7 separate regions of the Homo sapiens genome follow, and all the other regions are linked to region 7. Evidence: promoter capture Hi-C in 16 types of primary human blood cells and fetal thymus (Javierre and others, 2016). All regions are on one chromosome and are shown on one strand. The core of a region is centred on a gene start or on the middle of the fragment in contact, and the rest is flanking DNA. Distances in the headings are between cores, read along the strand shown.

Region 1 (3,101 bases), core at 204-2,703, 490 kb after region 7:
CTTATGGCTTGCTCTGGCCAGAAGATGTGAGCAGAAATGACATGTGTCATTTCCAAACAGAAGCTCTAAGCATGAGTGCACAGTGCCCCTCTCTCTCTCTGTTCCCACATATATTCCAGATAAAGGATCTTTTGTCAGCTGGGTCCCAGAGTGAAGATGGTGTGGGACAGAACCGTAGCCAGTCCACAGTGGACACGCACCAGGAGCGGGAAATGAACCTTTGTTGTGGTAAACCACAGGGATTTGAGGGGTCACTTGCTACCACGGCTTAATCTAGCTGATCCCAGCTGGACCCACGAGAAAAAGGCACCAGGAAATGACAGCACCGCAGCACGCCACCCCCAAACTCGCATTACCTTATGCTTAGTCATGGTGCTAAAGTGGTTGTTTCGGAAAAAGACGCTAAGTTCACCCTCCTTAGCAGCTGCTGTCAGCTCACACAGTCCGTGGTAGGTCAGCTGGGCCGCGGTGGTCTCCAGGAACTGCTCTGCAATCAGGCCTGCCAGAAAGGGACGAGTCGGGGGAAACTTGGCTTAAATTCAAGGTCCACAACAGGAAGGACCATCCAGAGAGCCCCTGTCAAAAGCCCCGGGGGGTCAGTCCCACCTTCTGACGTCCCTTTCTTGAAACCTGGCTGTATTCATTCACTTAACAAATACTTATAATAGAGCAGCTACCTTGTGCCAGGCACTGGGGATACCTCAATGAACTAAACAGAAATTCCCCAAGCTCCTTCTTGTGAAGCTTATATCTAGTGGGATGTGGTAGGAGATGACACCCAATAAAAAATAAGCCTAAGTAGCTGTCATTCCCTCCACATACTATCCATGAGAAGGGGAGGAATGTCACCTTCTGTCACGAGGTTGGTGTCACTGGAGTGTTTGCAGGTGATGATCCTCTCCACCAGCTGGTTGTAACTCAGTTTCCCAACTGCACGCACAGCCTCAGGACTCTGCTTGGGTAGTGGGATGTGGGATACCAAAAAAATTGGGATTTTTTTTTCTTTTTTAAGGAAGGAAATGAACAAAGCTCACAAGGACTACAACCCTGTGATGAATGGTTCCTAAACACTTTTTTTTTTTGGTCTCTCAAAAAAGAAAAAAATTTCAGGAACCATTCATCATAGGGTTGCTATGTTGCCCAGACTGGCCTCGAACTCCTCCCAAGTAGCTGGGAATACAGGCATGTGCCACCAAACCCATCTGCTTCCTGAATTTTTGATGTCTAAAGAACTGACCTATTTGCATGTAGTTTGCTTGTATTTGCATGTTACCCCCAAAATAGATTAAAATTCAAGGAATTCTGTACTGGGTCCAGTCTCTAAACACTATTTCCCTCCCAAGCCAATCTAACCCCTAACTCCCTAACCTCTACCCGACAAAAATTTGCCTCTCTCATGTCAGCTTGAGCTGGATAAGGTCCCAGTGGGCCCTCCCACCCTCACCTGTGGATCAACAAGCCAGCCATGGTACAGAGGTATGCCTAGCAGGTCAAAGACACTGCACTCGGGTGTATACTCAAAATCAGAGACGCCTGTGAATCGCACATTGACATCCAGACCTGTGGCCAGTTTAGGCAGCACTGTCATTGCATCATCCACATTCTGGGGGTAGAAAAAAAAATGATGGAGATTCTAGCCTTCTCTCCCACCACTCCACTCCCACCTGCAGAAATTAAAAATTAACCTTGCTGCTCTTCTTCCCTGATTCTCTTACAAGCCACTCCATTTCTCCCTTGCCTCAACCCTTCTCTATCTTATATAAATGAACATTGTTTTTCTTTGAGAGTCTAAGTCTAATTCTTTCATCCAGGCTGGAGTGCAGTGGTGTGATCCTAGCTCACTGCAGCCTCAAACTCTTGGTTTCAAGTGACCCTCCCACCTCAGCCTCCTGAGTAGCTGGGACTACAGGCACGCACCGCCATACCTGGCTAATTCTTGAAAAAAAAAATGGTTTTTTTTAGAGACAGGGGTATTATTATGTTGCCCAGGCTGGCCTCGAACTCCTGGCCTCAAGTGATCCTCCCGCTTTGGCATCTCAAAGTGCTGGGATTACAGGTGTGAGCACCCGGCCAATGAACATATTTTCTAGGACAAAGATAAACTCTCCTCTGACTCCTGCAGAATGAAATCATGGTTCAAGGAAACCTCTGAAGAAGCAACAAAAGCTTATCTTAGTATTACAAGATGTCCCCTTACAAACCTGCAAACCCCTATGCCTGCAGACCTTTTGCCTCACCTGCTGAAAATTAAGCTGAAGTCCCTCTGACTTCTCCTGGGGCTTGATGGACAGGAGGCAGTTTCCTACAAGACAGGGCCCCTTATCAGCTTACCCCACCAATCATCCCAAAAGCTAAGTTTCCTCTTCTCCTGGAGAATGCGGGTAATGTCACAGAACACAGATTTTCAGAGCTGGAAAATACTTAGAGTCTAATCCAGACTCTTCATTTCTCAGAGGAGGCGACAGCCTCATAAAGGTGAACGGCCCACCCAGGGTCAGATACAAAAGCTAAGGGCAGAATTGGTGTTACAACCCAGGACTCCCGACGCCTTTGCTTTTCATTCTCCAGCCTTGCAGAGAAGCCCCATAGACCCTTACCCTCCCTGCTGTATCAGAACCCCCAAATGGAGATCCCTGAATAGTCTGGATTTCTGGCTGAGTGGATAGCTCTGGAGCCCCTTGGGTAATTCCTCTTCAACGCCCAGTCACTCACCAAGATGGGCCATGAGCTCATCCGATGTGATCACTTCCTTCTGCGGGGGGAGCTTCACCTGGAGGCAGAAGGGGTGATCACGTGTGTGCTTTCCTCCAAAGAGCACTGAAGGAAGAACCCATGGAAAGGCAAGGGGGAGCTCCAGTAGTAGGGTGGGGTAGGAAAAAAGGCTTGCAACTGGCACAAGGGAATGAATGTGAAATCTTGCAAGGCATGTGCATTTGCTAGGGAGTAGGAGATACAGGGGTAGGACAGATCTTCCTCTTTTTTTTTTTTCTTTGTTTTTAGGAACATCTTATCTCATTTGCTCAAGCTGGAGAAATAGGGAGAACAATCTGAAAAGTTTTGACTAGTTTGAGGACATCAGGATGATCAAGGAAGTAAGTCAG
Region 2 (3,331 bases), core at 368-2,867, 350 kb after region 7:
CTGGCTAACACGGTGAAACCCCGTCTCTACTGAAAATACAAAAAAATTAGTCGGGCATCATGGCGGGCGCCTGTAGTCCCAGCTACTCGGGAGGCTGAGACAGGAGAATGGCGTGAACCTGGGAGGTGGAGGTTACAGTGAGCTGAGATCACACTACTGCACTCCAGCCTGGGCGACAGAGCGAGACTCCATCTCAAAAAAATAAAAAATAAAATAAATAAATAAAAGAAATATTAGGCCGGGCATGGTGGCTCATGCCTGTAATCCCAGCACTTTGGGAGGCCAAGGTGGGCATATCACCTGAGGTCAGGAGTTCGAGACCAGCCTGGCCAACGTGGTGAAATCCCATCTCTACTAAAAATACAAAAATTAGCTGGGCGTGGTGGCGCACGCCTGTAGTCCCAGCTGCTTGGGAGGCTGAGGCAGGAGAATCCCTTGAACCAGAGAGGTGGAGATTGCAGTGAGCCAAGATCACACCACTGCACTCCAGCCTGGCAAAAGAGCAAGACTCTGCCTCGAAAATAAATAAGTAAATAAAAATAAAAGAAATATTAAAAGACTTCTTTTAGGACAGGTGAAGTGGCTCACGCCTGTAATCCCAGTACTTTGGGAGGCCAAGGCAGGAGGACTGCTTGAGCAGGAGTTTGAGGCTGCAGTGGGCCATGATTGTGCCTCTGCACTCCAGCCAGGGTACAAGACCCTGTCTCTAAAAAAACCAAAAAGAAAATTTTTAAAGACTTCCTTTAATATATTTTTCTGATTACCAATCATACATGTTCATTTCAAAAATCTGAAAAATCAAAAACAAAAGAAACCGTAAGTCACCCATAATACTATTACCCAGAAATGTGGTATATATTCTTTCAGTTTTTTCCTATGTACATGTTATACATATCTTTTGACAGTGAAATACTATAATACTGTAACCTTTCTTAATAGATTGTGAACATCTTTCTACACTGAAACATATTTGTCGCTTATAACTACATAGCATTCCATTTTAAATATACTATGACTTTCTCAAGTGATGCCCTAATTTTGATATTTATAATACTTTTGTTTGTTACTGTACATAAACATAACACAGTGTTTAAAGAGTAAGCTACAAAGCTAAACCCCTAAGGTTCATATCCTATATCTGACACTTACTAGCTTTACAATCTTAGAAAGTTACTTATTCAGCTTATGCTTCAGCAAATGGTTAAAATCTGTAAAGCTACTGAACATATAACAAGTCTTAATATGTTACTCATGTTACCACTGAACCCAAGCATCACTCTTCCATTACTATTGGTGGGACAAAACTTAAAGACTGGTTATAATTAGCTGCACAATTTTTAAAAAGAAAAAGAAGGAAAAAGGAAAATTTAATACCAAAAAGTAAATAAAATAGTGCCCATTCTTCCAGGCCCCTCTAAGGCAACCTCCTTTCTGAAGCTTTTCTCAGTCTTTACCAACAAATGCATATTTCCATACACAGAAAAACATAGTATCAAATTTGTTCCTAACAAAACTAGGCATATTCTATCATATATTCATGTGTATAATAATTATTTCTATCAGAACACAACCAACTTAGAAACAAGGACTGTGTCTTATTCATCTTTGTATCCTACTTGGAATCAGCACAATGCCATAACACTAATTAGGAATTTAATAAATACTTTTGGAGCTGAATGGACTCTGCATTCCAAACCAAGCAACATATCAATAACTTAGAAGACAGCTATTCTAGAGCTCAGCATTCTCTAAATTCAGAAAAGCAGCCTACCAAAATGATTTTGGGAAAACAGAAACAAAGCTTAATGAAAGCAGCAAACAGTTTTCTCAGGCATAGTAAAATCTCTGGGCTTAGCTACAGTCCTTTATCTTACGGAAATTTTGGTTTAAAAAAAGAACTGCTTACGGGAAACTTGGATAAAAACAAATTCTTCATAAACAAAAATACAGGGACTAAGGAGACTTATATGACAGTAGTGTAGTAAGTAATCAAGTTGAAGTGAGATGGTCAGGAATAGCGAAGTGAGTTCAGCAACTAAATAAATTCAGCAACTAAAGTTGGTTTATAGGAGAGATATTCATAACACACTACACTCAAACTCACCCTGGTCGCCGCTTAATAGCCCTCTGGACAATGGCTCCTCCACCTTGAATTCCAGGTCCAGAGTTTCCAGAGGCAATGGCTGGACCCAGTGATGGTACATCTGATGTCATTTCTGTCAGGAAAATAATGAAGTAAACATTTTTAAAAAGACAGTCCTTGCTTATCATCAGTATCATCAAGTTAGCTAAAAGAAAGGTTCAAGCTATAGACAAAATCTCAGCAGTTTGCTAAAAATCCCAAATGCTCATATCCAGATTGCTCTTCTTGATTTTTTTTTTTTTTTTTGAGACCAGGTCTCACTCTGTTGCCTGGGCTAGAGTGCACTGGTATAATCACTGGTATAGGTCACTACAGCCTCAAACTCCTGGGCTCAAGCAATCCTCCCACCTCAGCTTCTGGAATAGCTAGGACTATAGGCCCGCACTACCACACCCAGTTAATTTTTTTTTTTTTTTTTAGAGATGGGGTCTTGATATGTTGCCCAGGCTGGTCTTGAACGCCTAGCTCCAAGAGATCATCCTGCTTTGGCATCCCAAAGTGCTGGGATTATAGGCATGAGCCACCACACACGGTCTCTTCTTGAATTCTTACACTGGTACAAGATATCCCCATACTTCAGTTCCCCCCATGTCATAGAGTTTGGAAGAAGTACTATATTCTGCAAACTTCATGTTAAAAAGCTTATACATACATAACAATATACTAATATTGTATAGACTTAATAATATACTAATTTTAAAAAAATACATACATAAATGGGTTTATACATTTCATTCATGCAACAAATATTTATAACTTATTTTATTTATTGTGATTGGAAAATACAGAAAACCCCAAAGGAAAAATCACCTAAATTCCAATACTTAAAAGAAAATTATGTAAAGTAAAACTGAAAGTCCCTCATTATTGTCTCCCTTTCCTGCCCCCCGTACCTCTCCTCTCTCCTTCCAATTCAATCTCATCCCCCAGCAGTAACCATTAGTAACAGCTGAGTACTTTTTTTTTTTTTTTTTTAAGACAGGGTCTCACTTTGTCCAGCCCAGGCTGGAGTACAGTGGCATGATCATGGCTTACTGCAGCCTCAACCTCCCGGGCTCCAGTGATCCTCCTGTCTCAGCTTCCTAAGTAGCTGGGACTACAGATGGGTACCACCACACCTCGGTGATTTTTTTTTTCTTTTTTTTTCTTTGTAGAGATAGGGTCTCACTGTGTTCCCCAGGCTGGTCT
Region 3 (2,968 bases), core at 20-2,519, 460 kb after region 7:
TCCAGCCAGGGAGTGTAGTGAGGATTTCTGTCAAGTTGCAGAGTGGTTTACCCACCCCACTTTAGAATGTGTACCTGTCACTGGCTGATGTTATCTGTGGAGGTCATTTGAAGTCTGATTATTGGACTTGTTACCCGAGGCTGTGAAAGCATTTAACCCTTCACTTGTTCTTTTCCAGGACACTGACGACCGAAACAAGATGTCAGTGTAAGTGCCTTTTGTTTTGTTTTGTTTTGAGACAGAGTCTTGCTTTGTCACCCAGGCTGGAGTGCAGTGGCGTAATCTCAGCTCATTGCAACCTCCCCCTCCCAGGCTCAAGAGATTCTCCCACCTCAGCCTCCCTAGTAGCTGGGACTACGGGTGTGCACCACCATGCCTGGCTAGTTTTTGTATTTTTTGTAGACACGGGGTTTCACCATGTTTCCCAGACTGGTCTTGAACTCCTGGGCTCAAGCGATGCTCCCAAAGGGGATCCTCAGCCTCCCAAAGTGCTGGGATTACAGCCATGAGCTACCGTGTCCAGCCCAGTGCCTGTCTTTTTGACCTGTCTCCAAATCTGCCTTCTCTCAAACCTAGGCTAGAAGCCTAAGAAACAGCCAGTAACCTGTTGGCTTCATTCCTTCCCCTCCCATTAGAGTTACTGAAAGCTCTCGAAATTACGGTTACAATCCTTCTCCTGTGAAGCCTGAAGGACTTCGCCGCCCACCTAGTAAGACTAGTATGCATCAAAGCCGAAGACTCATGGCTTCTGCTCAGTCCAACCCTGATGTAAGTCACCTCAAGCTTATTCAGAGTCTAATAAAGGAAAATGGGCCATTGTCACCTCATCAAGTCCTTCACTATAATTACTGTTAGGTCTTCTCCTACTTCTTTAGCCTTGACTTCCTGCCTTATTTTCTTTCATCCAGCATCTAATCTTCCTCTTGCCACCGCCCTTTCCTGCCAAACCGTGGGTAACAGCAAGGACTTAAAGGAGCCCTTCCCATTTACTTCTCTTACTTCTTACCCTCCTGCTTCCCCAGGATGTCCTGACACTGTCCAGCAGCACAGAAAGTGAGGGGGAAAGTGGGACCAGCCGAAAGCCCACTGCTGGTCAGACTTCGGCTACAGCGGTTGACAGTGATGATATCCAGACCATATCCTCTGGCTCTGAAGGGGATGACTTTGAGGACAAGAAGAACATGACTGGTAGCCTGGAAAAATTTTGGGAATGGTGGGAAGAAATAGTAAGAAACTTGGGATAGAGCATTTTTTAAGGAAGCTAAAGAAGTAGTGGGTAAAAATTCAGATCCTAAGAATTGGAGCATCTCTGGGAGGGCTTTCTGACTCCAAGCTAAACTATTGTTTGACACATCCTCTCTCATTTCCATTTTTTTACTCTTTCCCCTCAGCTCCTTTGTCTAGCAGATCTAATTATGCTTGAAAAAAAAACCTGCTACTTAGGATCTTTGAGTTCCAGCTTATTGGTGTTTCTCAGCTGCAATGTTGGGAGAGAAATAGGGGTAGAATGTCCATTCATGATAGAATGTCTGTTCATGAGTTGGGATGGGTCCTGACCCCATTCTCCCTCCTGTCCAGGTCCAATGAAGCGTCAAGTGGCAGTAAAATCAACCCGAGGCTTTGCTCTTAAATCAACCCATGGGATTGCAATTAAATCAACCAACATGGCCTCTGTGGACAAGGGGGAGAGCGCACCTGTTCGTAAGAACACACGCCAATTCTATGATGGCGAGGAGTCTTGCTACATCATTGATGCCAAGCTTGAAGGCAACCTGGGCCGCTACCTCAACGTGAGACCCCTCTCCCCACCTCTAGATGCTGGATTATCCCATGGTCCTCAGATTTCTTTTAACATACTCTATAAGCCCTTTTCTTGTTATAAACTCTTGATCTCAAAGGATCTTAAAGAGGTAGCTTTCTTTCAAAGCATCTATTATAATGGGGAGGGTCAGATGGCATCATTTTTCTTCCAACTCTCACTCTCCCTGCAAAGCCAGGTTCAGTTTCCCTGGTTCTTATTTGATCCTGTCCTTAAACCTACAGCACAGTTGCAGCCCCAACCTGTTTGTCCAGAATGTCTTCGTGGATACCCATGATCTTCGCTTCCCCTGGGTGGCCTTCTTTGCCAGCAAGTAAGGAGTCAGGAAAGGGGATGACTGGGGAGGGGCAAGGACCACTGAAGTTCTAAGGGCCCCTCCTCCATTCATGATCCAACTCCACCTACATATTCAGTAACCCCAAGTGCCTGGGTTATCTGCTGTCTTTGCCACACACCATCCTTTTCTTCCTCTTCAGAAGAATCCGGGCTGGGACAGAACTTACTTGGGACTACAACTACGAGGTGGGCAGTGTGGAAGGCAAGGAGCTACTCTGTTGCTGTGGGGCCATTGAATGCAGAGGACGTCTTCTTTAGAGGACAGCCTTCTTCCCAACCCTTCTTGAACTGTCGTTTCCTCAGGAACTGGGTCTTCCTGATTGTTGAACCCTGACCCGAAGTCTCTGGGCTAGCTACTCCCCCCAGCTCCTAGTTGATAGAAATGGGGGTTCTGGACCAGATGATCCCTTCCAATGTGGTGCTAGCAGGCAGGATCCCTTCTCCACCTCCAAAGGCCCTAAAGGGTGGGGAGAGATCACCACTCTAACCTCGGCCTGACATCCCTCCCATCCCATATTTGTCCAAGTGTTCCTGCTTCTAACAGACTTTGTTCTTAGAATGGAGCCTGTGTATCTACTATCTCCAGTTTGTATTATTTCTTGAAAGTCTTTTAACAATATGATAAAACTAAGATTGTGGTTTTGTTTCTCTCTCTCAGCCCGATACTCCCAATTCTGGATCTTTCAGTGAGGTATTATCCCCATCCTCCCCTGTGGGCTGCTGTCATTCATCTTCTACCTTGTCTACCTTTGCTTCTTGCATGTGAATTTTTTTAGATGGAGTTCTCGCTCTGTCACCCAGGCTGGAGTGCAA
Region 4 (3,164 bases), core at 222-2,721, 470 kb after region 7:
CACCCGCCTCGGCCTCACAAAGTGCTGGGATTACAGGCATGAGCCACCGTGCCTGGCCACATTACCTTATTTATTTATTTATTTATTTATTTATTTTTATGAGTTCAATAGTTTTTGGGGACAAGGTGGTGTTTGGTTACATGGATAAGTTCTTTAGTGGACACATTACTTCATTTAATCATCCCAGGAAACCTGTCCTCGGAGGCCCCAGCATGTCCCACAGCCTCCGTCTCTCTCAATCCTCCCATTTAGAGAGCTGAAAGGACTAGCGAAGCTTACAGAACATAGGTGGCAGAGCTGGATATTGAACCCTCATTCTCCAGTTCTGACACAGGTGCATGTTTTCCTTTTAACAGGAGAGAAAAGTGAGGAGCAGTGATTACCGCCACAGAAATATCCTTTCATGGCGTGTCCTCCGGCATGGTCTACTCAGTGTGGTGGAGCCACTGCAGGTCCCTCCTCCAGGGATGTAGGAATGCCAGTGAAGGCCTTCCTGAGTTGGGAGAGAGGCAGAGGAGTGAGTGGAGGCAGGGCTGTAGCTTCTGTGCCCCGCCCCTACCCAGGCTCTCCAGGGAGGCAGGAAAGAGGCTGTGTTTAGACCTGAGGGAGCCAGCTGTGAGGCTGGAGCAGTTGCTGCATGGCGGGGCGGGGGCTCCACAGGGCTGTTCACCTGCTGCTCTGTGCAGAGACAGCCTCAAGTCCAGCTGCTGGGGTTGCATCACCTGCAGCTAAAACAGCCACAGGGCCCAGGCTGCCAAAAGGCAACAGAAGCAATCTAAGAAACCAGGCAAGGGAGCCTCCCCCATCTCCCTGTTGCCTTTTGGGAGCATAGAGCTTCCCTCTGAAGGTAACACCCTTTGCATTTTTCTCTCTTGACTCTGTTCATCAACTTCCACTCCCAAATACTTGTGCCCTTCCTTCTCCACAGATATACACAATCCCTGGGCACTCTCCACCTAGGTCAGCTGGCTCTAGTAAGGCAGCAGTCAAGGGAGTTTCTGGGCTGGGACCCCCTCTGGGGTGCAGGCTGGGGTGCCCTGCTGGTATGTGCCCCAACAGGTTTTTCCCTATCAGCCTTGAAATCAGCCTGCAGCCTGTCTGACCTGCCCCCCAGGGAGCTGGAGCCAGAGGCAGAGCCAGGTCAGAAGCTGGGGCAGAGCCAGGTCAGAAGCTGGACTTTGAGACTAGGTCTCTGTGGTCCCACCTGGACCCACAGGGAAGGCAGTGCATAAAAGCCTCCTGTGTTTGAGGCTGAGCCGCTGAGAGGCTGAGTGGAGTTCACTCACATGGATTGAGGCCCAGTTCCTGGGAGAAGAGATGCTGGGCAGGAAGGTGTCTGCATGTGGGACTCTGTACAGCCCGGTCCTCTCCCACGTCTGGGAGGGGCCAGAGTCAGACAACTGCTGGGTTCGTCCCTAAGAGAGGTCATCTGACTGGCTGTTCAGCCTAGGCTGCACACACCCCCACTTTCCTCTACCAGGCCACACCGGAGGCAGTGCTCACACAGGCAAGCTACCAGGCCACAACAACGACACCCACCTCACCTCTGGCACCTCTGAGTAAGTACTGGGCCCACGGCCCCATGCCAGGAGGGCTTGTTGATTGCTTGGGGGAGGGAAAAATGAGTTTTCCTTTTCCAACATGAGAGTGCCTCCTTTCTGTCCAGGCATCCACGTACTTGCAAGAACTCTTGCTCACATCAGCTAAGAGATTGCACCTGCTGACCTAGAGATTCCGGCCTGTGCTCCTGTGCTGCTGAGCAGGTAGGCAGCTGTACAGGCAGGAATTGAGGGTTGCTTGTCAGCTGGGGCTGCCGGTGGGGGAAGATGCTATTTCGAGTTGTCTTCCACTCTGCGTGGTTAATCCTGCCACCTCACCTCAGCTCCCCTGCACTGCCCAGGAGACCCCAGCCAGGCCCAGGAAGGAGGGCCATAGACCTCAGAAGGGAGGCATCTACCGCGGACCAAGGCCTGAGGAGCTTTGGTGCTGACCCTGGCATCAGGGAGGGTTGGCGCCTGGTCCAGGAGCATTCCGCATCAATCCCCACTTCCTAAAGGAGTGGGGAGAGGTGGGGAAGGTGGGGGCTCCCCTCTTACCTCACCATTTCAGCTCCATTTCTGGCTCCAAGCCTAAGCAGGTTGATCTTTTTTTCTGCAGCAAGGAAAGGAACAGGTGACTGGAACCCAGGGTCCAGGGTCTCGGGGGGGTCATAAGGAGTCCCTGAAGGGCCAGGAAATTCAGCTCTGTGGGCTCCTGTTTCCTTCCCCAGGGCAACCAGTAGCACCATGTCTGTGACTGGCGGGAAGATGGCACCGTCCCTCACCCAGGAGATCCTCAGCCACCTGGGCCTGGCCAGCAAGGTAGGGGCTGTTGGGATTTTAGAGATCACTTTTAGTATCTCAGCTCGGGCTGTGAGAGGATGGGAGGCAGGAAAGTGGAGGACAGGCCCTGAGGTTATGCTGAGGAGGTGTAGGCAGCCTGGCCCTGGCCCTTGCCAACTACCCTGTGCTCCCACAGACTGCAGCGTGGGGGACCCTGGGCACCCTCAGGACCTTCTTGAACTTCAGCGTGGACAAGGATGCGCAGAGGCTACTGAGGGCCATTACTGGCCAAGGTGAGCCCCTTTCCCCCGGCACTTGAGACTGCCTTTTAGAGCCAATCTGTAGACCAAGGAGGAGCCAGGAAGGAGGAACTAGTGATGTTGGAGAAATGTTTGTGGAATGCCTTCATTCTTGTATGTCAGGCGCCACAGTAGGTGTGTCAAACCCATTCTCACAACACCCCTGTGAGGCAAGGCTTATTATTTCCATTTTCCAGATGAGGAAACTGGGGCTCAGGGAGATTAAGAGGCTTGCCCAAGGTCACTCAGCTCATGACGGAGGTGGTATTCTCATCTAGGTCAGCCGATCCCCCCAAGTCGTATTTTTTTTTAACCACCACACCAGGCCACCTTTGCCTTGGTCTGGGTCAGATTTGCATGCTGTTTTGACATTTTATTTGCAACTTCTTTTGAGATAAAATGGAAGTGGGGGTGATATAGCCCCTGCTCCTTTCCTTCCCAGCCCTCTCCTGGAGCGCCTTCCCTCCTCCAAGGAGTAGGAACATCCCACTATGTAAAGACCCTGCTCACAGCACAGCCCTCATCTCGGTTCAGGCGTGGACCG
Region 5 (3,356 bases), core at 52-2,551, 440 kb after region 7:
CGGCCACGTGAGTGTTTCTCCCTTATTCCTTAGCTCAGTTTTCTCCTCTACCTTGTATTTCTTCTTAGGACATCCAGTTGAAAAGCCCTAGTGTTTTTGGTATTTCAGTCTCAAAGAGCATAAGTTTGGTTGATGTCTTTTGCTCCCAAAGGTCAGTTTGCTCCCAAAAGAGATACAGTTTTATTGTTCATCTCCAGGACTGGGTCTTTGTAGACAAAGAGTGAGACACTAGAAGATCATGAATGGCCTTGAGTAGACTGCTCACGTTATAGATGTGCTTCAATTTCATTTCTAAGTGAGTTACGTTGGAAAAGGTGTTACTTCTTTCCTAGTGTCATACTGCACCTAACATTTGTATAAATGTGTAGTCTGCATAATGCTTTCCACAGAAGCTGTGTTAGATGGAACCTCATAGTGTCCACTATATTTGTTACCCTGGCTTGGGAGCAGACTCCTATGGAAACAATCATTTTTAACTGCAGAAGAATCAACTAACACTTTTGTTTACACATAACATGACAGTAAACACATTCTGAGTCTCTTAAAAACCTGATAGAGAATGAGAAGGAAGGACTAATTTTTTTCATTTCATGATGCCACCTGATCTTTTTAAATTTACCACTAGACTGATCAACAAGTGAGCAAGAATTTCCACTTGAATTTTCCAGAGGAGAAACATCCATTTGTGTAAAATAAGTGAATCACCTATATTGTACATTTCTTATTTAGTATTTACTTGATTTGTAAGTATGTACAGTTTGTACATTAGGTTTATTACTTAGGTGGTCTTGGCTTTGCTTCCCTTGAGGTTCTGATTTTACTTTTTCTCTCCTTTTCAACTTAAAAAGTATCAAATGTCTCCTGGCCAAGTCTTTTCCCTATCAAGACATGCCCTACCTGCCCTCTCAGTTCTACTTCTTCCTTGAAACAGTGAAAAAGACTTGGGAGGACATAGAAGACATCTCCTGCCGTGACTTCATAGAGGAGTATGTCACTGCCTACCCCAACCGCCCCATGGTACTGCTCAAGAGTGGCCAGCTTATCAAGACTGAGTGGGAAGGCACGTGGTGGAAGTCCCGAGTTGAGGAGGTGGATGGCAGCCTAGTCAGGATCCTCTTCCTGGTACTGTTCTTCTCTACAATTTTGGAGGCAGAGGTTGGTGGGGGGGGAACTTAAGAAGCAGTAATGAGGATGGTTTTATAGCTATTCCATAGCCTTCCTCTTTCTTATCCTCGTATGTGTTCTCACTGTTTTTGGTCAAATTTTACTTTGCCCTTTTTGTTGTTCCTCTGCAGGTCATTGTTGAAAATAAATTATCTGAATTATAATACGAATCTGCATGGTTTTGATTTATTTATTTTTTTTCTTTAGGAGTATTCACATTGTGTGTAGGTACAGAAAGGGCAGCCAATTCCATTTTTCCAGGGTTAAGGTTTTAGTAGGATAGTGGGACGAAGAAGAGGGATCAAGGAGTCCTGATTATCTTTCAAGGCTCAGTTTAACTCTTAGGTATTTTGTACTCATCCTTTTCTCCCTTCTCTCTCCCTTCTTAGAATCATATTTCTTATTTTTAAAAGTTTTAAAAACATTTTTTAATACTGCTGCTTGCAGAACAAGGCTACCTGATAGGCAGTGTGCCCAGAGTAGCCAGAAGAAATTAGAAGTTATATTTCTTCTTGGTGTTACCTCAGCCCGTTACTTCTAAGGCCTTATGATCCTTATCATGCTTTTTGTTTGGTGTTTTGTTTTGTTTTCAGACGGAGTTTCACTCTTGTTGCCCAGGCTAGAGTGCAATGGCACGATCTCGGCTCACTGCATCTTCCGCCTCCTGGGTTCAAGTGATTCTCCTGCCTCAGCCTCTCGGGTAGCTGGGACTGGCTAATTTTTTGTATTTTTAGTAGAGACGGGGTTTCACCATGTTGGCAGGCTGGTCCCGAACTCCTGACCTCAAGTGATCCACCTGCCTTGTCCTCCCAAAGTGCTGGGATTACAGGCGTGAGCCACCACGCCTGGCCTGTTTTGTTTTGTTTTGTTTTGTTTTGTTTTGTTTTTTGAGACAGTCTCACTCTGCCACCCAGGCTGGAGTGCAGTGGTGCAATCACAGCTCACTGCAGCCTCAACCTCCAGGGTTCAAGTGGTCCTCCCACATCAGCCTCCCAAGTAGCTGTGACTACAAGTGCATGCCACCACACCTGGCTGATTTTTGTATTTTTAGTAGAGACGGGTTTCGCCATGTTGCCCAGGCTGGTCTCGAACTCCTGAGCTCAAGCAGTCTGTCTGCCTCATCCTTTCGACATACCAGGATTATAGGTGTGAGCTATTGTGCCCAGCTGTCATACCTCTTATACTCAGTATAGATATCTGTTGCTCCTGTAATTCCTTAAACAAGGAGTATATATTTTTCATTGTTGTGTTCCTGATACCCATCATGGATCCTGGCACATACTTTATTAAGTAGATAAGGAATTTTTTTTTGGGGGGGATGGAGTTTCGCTCCTGTTGCCCAGGCTGGAGTACGATGGTGCAGTCTCGGCTCACCACAACCTCCGCCTCCCTGGTTCAAGCAATTCTCCTGCCTCAGCCTCCCGAGTAACTGGGATTACAGGCATGCGCCACCACACCCGGCTAATTTTGTATTTTTAGTAGAGACGGGGTTTCTCCATGTTGGTCAGGCTGGTCTTGAACTCCCAACCTCGGGTGATCCACCTGCCTCAGCCTCCCAAAGTGCTGGGATTACAAGCTACAGGCGTGAGCCACTGTGCTTAGCTTAGACTAAGGAATTTAAGGCTCATCAGGGAGGATTCCCAGAGGTGACACATGGTATATATCCTCTACACAGGACAGGATAGATTCTAGCCTTTAAGCTATTTCCCTTCATTCTTTTCTCTCAATTCCCCAGGATGACAAAAGATGTGAGTGGATCTATCGAGGCTCTACACGGCTGGAGCCCATGTTCAGCATGAAAACATCCTCAGCCTCTGCACTGGAGAAGAAGCAAGGACAGCTCAGGACACGTCCAAATATGGGTATGTCCTGAAAGATTCCTGGAGGAAGGAAGAAACAGGCCAACCAGCAAAGGAGATTATATACAATGGCTATCCTTTGATTAGCATGGTTACACTGTATACTCATTGGAAACAGGATATGTGCCCTGAGTTGTTTCCAATCATGGTGATCAATTTGTGCTGCTGCTTCCACATGCTGTGGCTCTAATTTGTTCTAAACAACCACATAAAAATCTGAAACAGTTGGCTTTAGGTTAGGGTGATAGTAGTTACCCTCTGTTATCCACATGAGAATTGTCAGTTTTGTGTGTTATCTATGGTTAGTTTTTTCTTTTTCTTTTTTTTTTAAAT
Region 6 (3,272 bases), core at 242-2,741, 330 kb after region 7:
CCTATATGCTATATTCATGAGTCAAGTTCTCAAATATTAATACTTATTAGCTTATTAAATAGTTTTCACAACTCTTCTCTACTTCTCATTGTCCCAATGCTAATTAATGTTATAGCCAAGGATTGAAATTCGTTTTCCCATTGTCTGACTTCTTCCTGAAAAGCTGAATTCTTGTCCAAAAAACGAAAACTTTCAAGAGATTCACCCAGATTCCAGACTCTCTCAGAACTATAAGTCCCAGAGACCTGATCAGTGAGGAAAGACGGCTTATAGGAGCCATCAGTGGATGTGTTGCCAGTTCCCCGCAAGGACTTCATGTGAGAAACTGCCATGCGTAAGATGGTTAGCTTGTCTGGTTTTCGAGCCAGGGCACTACAGGTGGGTACCATATCTGACAGTTCTGTGATGTAGGCTGTCATCTTGTTCCGTCGCCGCCGTTCAATTTCACTGTGATTTTCCCTGCATGGAAAGAAAGAGAAGCCCCATCCAGGTGGTCACATCTGGTCATTTGGTAGCAGGGAGAGTGATATGGATACCAAGTGTGCTGCTGAAGAATGTGGTATTCAGATTTAGTGATGCTTAAGTCTCAGCAGTTAAAATAAGGTTTGCCAACCTTCTCATGCAAAGCAAGCATGAAACAGAACTAATAAGGCAGACAGAGAACAAGAAGATAATGTAATTCCCTTCCCCCTATTTCCTGGAAACTTCACATCCTTTGTAAATTACCACTCCCTCAGAACAAAAGCTGTTTTAAGAAACGACAGGTCAGGCATGGTGGCTCATGCCTGTAATCCCAGCACTTTGGGAGATGGAGGCAGGTGGATTACTTGAGGCCAGGAGTTTGAGACCGGCCTGGCCAACATGGTGAAATCCTGTCTCTACTAAAAATACAAAAATTAGCAGGGCACAGTGGCATGCATCTGTAATCCCAGCTACTTGGGAGGCTGAGACAGGAGAATCACTTGAATCTGGGAGGTGGAGGTTGCAGTGAGCTGAGATCACACCACTGCACTTCAGCCTGGGTGGCAGAGCAAGACTCCATTTCAAAAAAAAACAAAAAACAAAAAACAAGAGAAAAAAAAAGATAGTATTTTTAAATGCTGATTTTACTCACTTAAGTTCCTATGGAACATATAACCTCAGCTTGGTTAACTCCCATGCTTACTAATTCAACTATTTAAAGGCCAGAAAATAAAAGGACCAATTTTTGCCAACTCAAGTATGTGGCTCCATAGCTGATACAAGAATTGATAGTACAGATTTCCTTGGTCTATAAAATATGGTAAGCCTCTCTCTTATTTGCAACATTAAAAGGCAGAATTTGAAGATTTTGAAGTTTTATTTGGCCCATTAATGCACAAAGTCCTACCTTCTTTATCTGGGTGTGCTGCCAGTGCACTAAACTTCTTACAAGACTTAAGATACACCATCTACTAAAAGTCCCATATGGGTCCCCAGTCTGGGACGAAGTTAACTGGAGGAGTGGAATGGAGAGGAGGATGATTAAAGGTCTGACAAGACAATTTGAATCTCACCCAGGTAAATAGACCACAGCTCCAACACTGACTTCCTCAAAATTAAGACAGAAAGATATCACTGTTAACAGGAATAATCCAGCAGTTTTCCAACAGGAATTTTTAAAAGCCCATTAAGTTTCTCAGTGTCCTCCATGGGGATGCCTCAAGGAGATAATCATGCAACATGCTGCATTTCTGCTTCTACTCAAATATTTGCCTTATCTCTCTTCTTCTTTTTTTTTTTTTTTTTTTTTGAGATGGAGTCTTGCTCTGTCACCCAGGCTGGAGTACAGTGGCGGGATCTCGGCTCACTGCAACCTCCGCCTTCTGGGTTCAAGCAATTCTGCTATCTCAGCCTCCCAGGTAGCTGGGACTACAGGCGCACACCACCACGCCCAGTTTTTTTTTTTTTTATTTTTAGTAGAGACGCGGTTTCACCAAGTTGGCCAGGATATTCTCCATCTCTTGACCTCGTGATCTGCCTGCCTCGGCCTCCCAAAGTGCTAGGGTTACAAGCATGAGCCACTGCGCCCGGCCTGCTTTATCTCTTTTATTTATTTCTGTTACCACTTAAGAATTCTACTTGAACAAAAGTTCTTTGTCCAAAAAAAAAAGAAAGTAAGAAAATTAAAAATCTAACATAAATCTCTTTTTTCTGAGAAGAGCAAAGGGAGGTCAAGTAGGTAAGTGACTTTCCCCAGGCTGCTCTCTTCCCAATACAATGTTTTCTCCACCACATCATGCCAAATCCATTTTCTGAACAGTGAAAGGGTTAGTAAGAAGCTCGAGTTAAACTGGCAGCAAAATGAGTTTGTGACCCAGATTAAAGAGGAAATAGTAGAAAAAAGGGGGAATATAGTAAAAATGGGTATTGGCATCAATGATCTATTTCCTAAGTCACCCCCAAATCACAGATACTAGAAAACAGAAAAGTCTATGCATATTTCTTCTGCAGCATTTCTACATTACAAACAACAGTCTCCCAAGAGAATTCTAGAGTCTCCTTTCTAAATGGCAAAAAGGGTCTCACCACATAGGCCCATATTTAGTTACACTTTGCCTAAGACATAAAATTCTATTCTCAAACATAAAGCACTCATCTTCCTAGTATCTGACAGATTTCTGACACGTAAGTACAGAAACCTGGTCTTTTAAATAGCCACATCAAGGAAACTAAAACTTTTCTAGAAAACTACCGCAAGAAAGGATTCGGTCACCAAAGCAACACTAGTTCTGTTGTGAGAATAATCTAGGCTGTGAGTCTTCATAGGAAAATAGGTGTGAGTTTCCTAGAGGTGTGGAGTAAATGCTGAGGCCTAAATACTGGGAACTAATCACAAATACAGATATATTTATTGGTTTTCTGATAAAAAGAGTATTTCCCTGTTAAAGCACCAACTGGCACGGTTGCATTCCTTCTAAGAGCTTTTTGTTCTGTGAAACTTAGTACTGACATAAAGAGAAAAAGAAAAAAAAACTTAAAACTAATAGCAATTTCTTAAATCCCTAAGCAAAGTTCCCTCAACTCACCCACTTTCTGATGGGGGAAGCCAAAGTTCCTGTTACACTCAAACTTCTAAAAAATCTTGTCCTCTCTTGCCACAGATAAGGAAAAATACAAAGAGAAAGGGGAAGAAAAGAAAGAGTAAGAAAAAGGATAGAAAAAGCAGCATCATCTGCTTCATCATGCTAAAAGACACTGTTCTCCTACCTGGCAAGTCTCTCTTTATCCGCAGAGCTCTGCTCATCATCCGA
Region 7 (3,099 bases), core at 535-3,034:
TCTGTGAATCCAGCCCTAACAGACACCAAGAGCCAGAGTGGGACTGATGAGAGGAAACTGTTCTAAGGGTCAGAGTGGTTGGGGGGAGGCGGGGCAGTGTGAAGGCCACACCACTCCTGCCACCTTCCACTTGCTCTAATACCCCCTTCAGACACGCGCGCGCACACACACACACACACACACACACACACAGTTTCTCTCTGTGGGGTTCTCATTGTTTGTCTTTCTCTGCTTGACTCTAATGTCTCTGACACACACACACACACACACACACACACACACAGTTTCTCTCTGTGGGGTTCTCAGTGTTTGTCTTTCTCTGCTTGACTCTTATGTCTCTGACCCTGGGGCTCTTGACCAGAAGCGATAAGGCCTGCGGGGACTGAAGCACTTCCTTGTCTCCTCAGGATGAGCAGGACTGGTCATTTAGTATTAGCAGACACAGCTGAATACTTCCTTTCTGTGAACCATATCTGGGCTCTGCTCCCACCCTTCCTAAAGATTTAGGTCTCTCAAGTTTCTGCAGAGCAAAAGAAACTGTTCCATGTGGGTGAATTTGCCCTGAGGTTCCCAAACTTCCTCTACCTGCAGTGGTTGGCCAGAAAGAGCAAAGTAAGAGAACAGTGAACATTCGGACTCGAGATAATCGTCGCCTTGGGGAGTGGGACTTGCCTGAGGCTGTGCAGCGACTGGTGGAGCTACAGAACACGAGGGTCCCAAATGCCGAAGAAATTTTCTGAGCCTTTGTACATAGATGAGGCAAAAACCTGCGAGTGCCATCAGCCTCCCTCACATGGGAGACCCCAACCCAGCTGACAATGTGGAGCCCCCAGAACTTCAGAACTGTGTGGAGGCACATGTCTGCTCTCCTGAAAAGAGACTTGGTTTGGGGACCCCACAAAAGGAGGGAAGCTGTAGCTGTTTGGATGTGAGGAGAATGAAACTACAAAAAAAAATAAATTGGGCCAGGCGCAGTGGCTCATGCCTGTAATCCCAGCACTCTGGGAGGCTGAGGCGGACGGATCATGAGGTCAGGAGATCAAGACCACCCTGGCTAACACGGTGAAACCCTGTCTCTACTAAAAATACAAAAAATTAGCCGGGCATGGTGGCACACGCCTGTAATCCCAGCTACTCAGGAGGCTGAGGCAGGAGAATCGCTTGAACCCGGGAGGTAGAGGTTGCAGTGAGCTGAGATTGCGCCACTGCACCCCCCTAGGCGACAGAGCGAGACTCTGTCTCTAAATAAATAAATAAATAAATAAATACAAACTGGAAGCTGCTGGTCATATGTCTTCATCTCTGACTCTGGAGAGGTGGGATAAAAGGATGTTCCACTTTGTCTCCCTCTTTTTTGTCCCAGAGAGTTAGGGAAATTGAAAAGGGACAGTCCAGACCTCACACTGGTAGGGGAGATCCCTTGGATAGGTTTCCTGCTCCCCGCTGTAAACTCCTTTGTGCCCTGTTTCCCCAACCCCAGTTCATGAGTTGGCAGATCCCCTCTCCACAGAAGGCAGCCTGTAGATGGAGAAACTGAGGCACAAACTAGGGGCTCAAACACCTCTTGCTCCTGGATTCTCTGAATCAGTTTCTCTTGAAGGTCATAAGAATGTTCTCCTCTAATCAGTCCCATTCTTCTCAATCCTCTGAGGAGGCTTCAGGGTGACTTTGGGAGGAGTGGCTTCCAGAGGAGGAGCAGCTGGGACTGAGTCATGGCAGGAAGCTGAGGAGGGCGGGAGATCACACCAGACAATTATAAAAGAAGAGCTGGTCCTGAAGCTCACAACCGTAACAGCCACCAGACAAGCTTCAGTGGCCGGCCCTTCACATCCAGACTTGCCTGAGAGGACCCACCTCTGAGTGTCCAGTGGTCAGTTGCCCCAGGATGGGGACCACAGCCAGAGCAGCCTTGGTCTTGACCTATTTGGCTGTTGCTTCTGCTGCCTCTGAGGGAGGTGAGTTGGGGGATCAGCACTTAGGAGGGGGTCTGGGCTTGCATGGCAGGGGTCTGGGTCCAGGCATCCCAGACGGCTCATCACTAGCAGAGTGATTCTCCGTTTGGCTTTCCTTTTCTGAGCAGGCCCAAAGTGGGCCTAGGCCAGTGGAGCCTTTAACCAAGGAGGCAGAGAGCAGGGGCACAGAAGGAGAGGGGTTCCTAGAAACTGCTGCCAAGAAACACAGAATCCCAGTCAAATAGACAACTGAGTGGGGGGTGGGTTCACAGAGTGAGGGTCTCCTGCTGATGAGGATGTAGGGAGGTGGCTGGTGGGAGAGGCAAGGGAGGGAAAAGGGGCCCCCAGGCTGCTCAAAACCGGATTGCTGGCCCAGCAAGCCTCGACTGACTCCCTGTCTGATTAGAGGAGTTGAGGGGTGTCCATCCACAGACCCACCCTCCATCCAGCACAAACACATTCTTTATCTGCTTTGATGCCTGAACAAAACAGGAACCCCTCAATGCTATGGGTGGAAACTAAGAAAAAAAGGAAAAGAAAAGGAAAAAAACCACCCAGGGCACTCCTGCAGGAAGCTGCTGAGGATGTCAGCAAATCTGTCCACTTCTCTGTGAAGCCCCATGCCATCATTCTTCCCAGCTCCTGGTCTTTTGTGTCTGCAGATCACCTACAAGTGACCCTTCCCTGTGCCTGTCCCAGTCCCCCAGGCCCTAAATTGAGACCTAAACTAAGGCGGAGCTGAGACTGGCTGAAGGGGAAGCACTCAACCTTCAGGAAGCCTCCTTAACCAAAGGCCTAAAGATGTTTCAAGGGCCTGGAGTAGGAGGGTGGGTGGAGGAGGTGGATTGGGTAGGCTCCAACCAGCTCAAGGTCCAGACTTTTTCCTCTGAAAGCTAGAGACGCATCCCAGCAGAGACTGGGGAGGACAACCCACAGCCCTGAGGGAAAGACTGGCAGAGGAAATGAGGGCCTCCCTCCCCAATCCCGTATGCCATACTCCCTTTAGGCCCAACCTCTGAGCCAGTAGAGGTGGAGCTATCAGACCGCCACAGGCTTTCTCAGAACCCAGCTGGTCATGTCTAGGTGTGTTGGGGCTGGGAGAGGATTAGGGGACACGGGGCAGGTGAATACAGAGGGGCATCTCGTG

What was found. The method cuts DNA at HindIII sites, captures the fragments that hold promoters and counts their contacts. A CHiCAGO score of 5 or more calls a contact.
Region 1: a contact is called between a fragment that was not itself captured here and the fragment with the promoter of ECM1 in region 7, in 2 of 17 cell types (fetal thymus and erythroblasts). The highest score is 6.2, in fetal thymus.
Region 2: a fragment that was not itself captured here is called in contact with the fragment with the promoter of ECM1 in region 7 in 1 of 17 cell types (total B cells); the score reaches 5.1 in total B cells.
Region 3: a contact is called between a fragment that was not itself captured here and the fragment with the promoter of ECM1 in region 7, in 1 of 17 cell types (fetal thymus). The highest score is 5.1, in fetal thymus.
Region 4: the fragment with the promoter of ANXA9 here is called in contact with the fragment with the promoter of ECM1 in region 7 in 1 of 17 cell types (neutrophils); the score reaches 5.1 in neutrophils.
Region 5: a fragment that was not itself captured here is called in contact with the fragment with the promoter of ECM1 in region 7 in 1 of 17 cell types (neutrophils); the score reaches 6.8 in neutrophils.
Region 6: a contact is called between a fragment that was not itself captured here and the fragment with the promoter of ECM1 in region 7, in 1 of 17 cell types (neutrophils). The highest score is 6.3, in neutrophils.

Annotation. Positions count from the first base shown.
Region 1 is chr1:150,999,013-151,002,113 of GRCh38, forward strand. MINDY1 (MINDY lysine 48 deubiquitinase 1) reads right to left here. Exons shown (of 10, transcript NM_001376665.1): 3 at 2,713-2,770; 4 at 2,238-2,302; 5 at 1,445-1,603; 6 at 850-952; 7 at 357-499. Among named protein-coding and RNA genes, the nearest start is that of MINDY1, 6.3 kb to the right of the region's middle. The HindIII fragment of the contact is 1,422 bases long and covers 743-2,164 here.
Region 2 is chr1:150,856,245-150,859,575 of GRCh38, forward strand. ARNT (aryl hydrocarbon receptor nuclear translocator) reads right to left here. Exons shown (of 22, transcript NM_001668.4): 2 at 2,105-2,216. Among named protein-coding and RNA genes, the nearest start is that of ARNT, 19 kb to the right of the region's middle. The HindIII fragment of the contact is 364 bases long and covers 1,436-1,799 here.
Region 3 is chr1:150,961,952-150,964,919 of GRCh38, forward strand. SETDB1 (SET domain bifurcated histone lysine methyltransferase 1) reads left to right here. Exons shown (of 22, transcript NM_001366418.1): 17 at 179-207; 18 at 636-768; 19 at 1,023-1,188; 20 at 1,579-1,790; 21 at 2,044-2,132; 22 at 2,296-2,786. The coding sequence ends at 2,413. Among named protein-coding and RNA genes, the nearest start is that of CERS2, 11 kb to the right of the region's middle. RefSeq lists an enhancer at 2,830-2,968 and a cis regulatory region at 2,902. The HindIII fragment of the contact is 977 bases long and covers 782-1,758 here.
Region 4 is chr1:150,980,821-150,983,984 of GRCh38, forward strand. It overlaps ANXA9 (annexin A9), which reads left to right and starts at 1,472. Exons shown (of 14, transcript NM_003568.3): 1 at 1,472-1,559; 2 at 1,667-1,763; 3 at 2,270-2,360; 4 at 2,518-2,614; 5 at 3,155-3,164. The coding sequence starts at 2,286. LOC105371438 (a long non-coding RNA gene) reads right to left here and starts at 685. Exons shown (of 3, transcript XR_922135.3): 1 at 601-685; 2 at 384-493. RefSeq lists an enhancer at 1,996-2,857. The HindIII fragment of the contact is 18,662 bases long and covers 273-3,164 here.
Region 5 is chr1:150,943,987-150,947,342 of GRCh38, forward strand. SETDB1 (SET domain bifurcated histone lysine methyltransferase 1) reads left to right here. Exons shown (of 22, transcript NM_001366418.1): 8 at 1-7; 9 at 932-1,122; 10 at 2,900-3,026. Among named protein-coding and RNA genes, the nearest start is that of SETDB1, 19 kb to the left of the region's middle. RefSeq lists an enhancer at 123-267 and a cis regulatory region at 195. The HindIII fragment of the contact is 8,160 bases long and covers 1-3,356 here.
Region 6 is chr1:150,839,196-150,842,467 of GRCh38, forward strand. It overlaps ARNT (aryl hydrocarbon receptor nuclear translocator), which reads right to left. Exons shown (of 22, transcript NM_001668.4): 5 at 3,229-3,272; 6 at 246-459. Among named protein-coding and RNA genes, the nearest start is that of CTSK, 33 kb to the left of the region's middle. The HindIII fragment of the contact is 6,848 bases long and covers 1-3,272 here.
Region 7 is chr1:150,506,325-150,509,423 of GRCh38, forward strand. It overlaps ECM1 (extracellular matrix protein 1), which reads left to right and starts at 1,785. Exons shown (of 10, transcript NM_004425.4): 1 at 1,785-1,955. The coding sequence starts at 1,886. TARS2 (threonyl-tRNA synthetase 2, mitochondrial) reads left to right here. Exons shown (of 18, transcript NM_025150.5): 18 at 592-1,278. The coding sequence ends at 740. The HindIII fragment of the contact is 8,833 bases long and covers 1-1,805 here.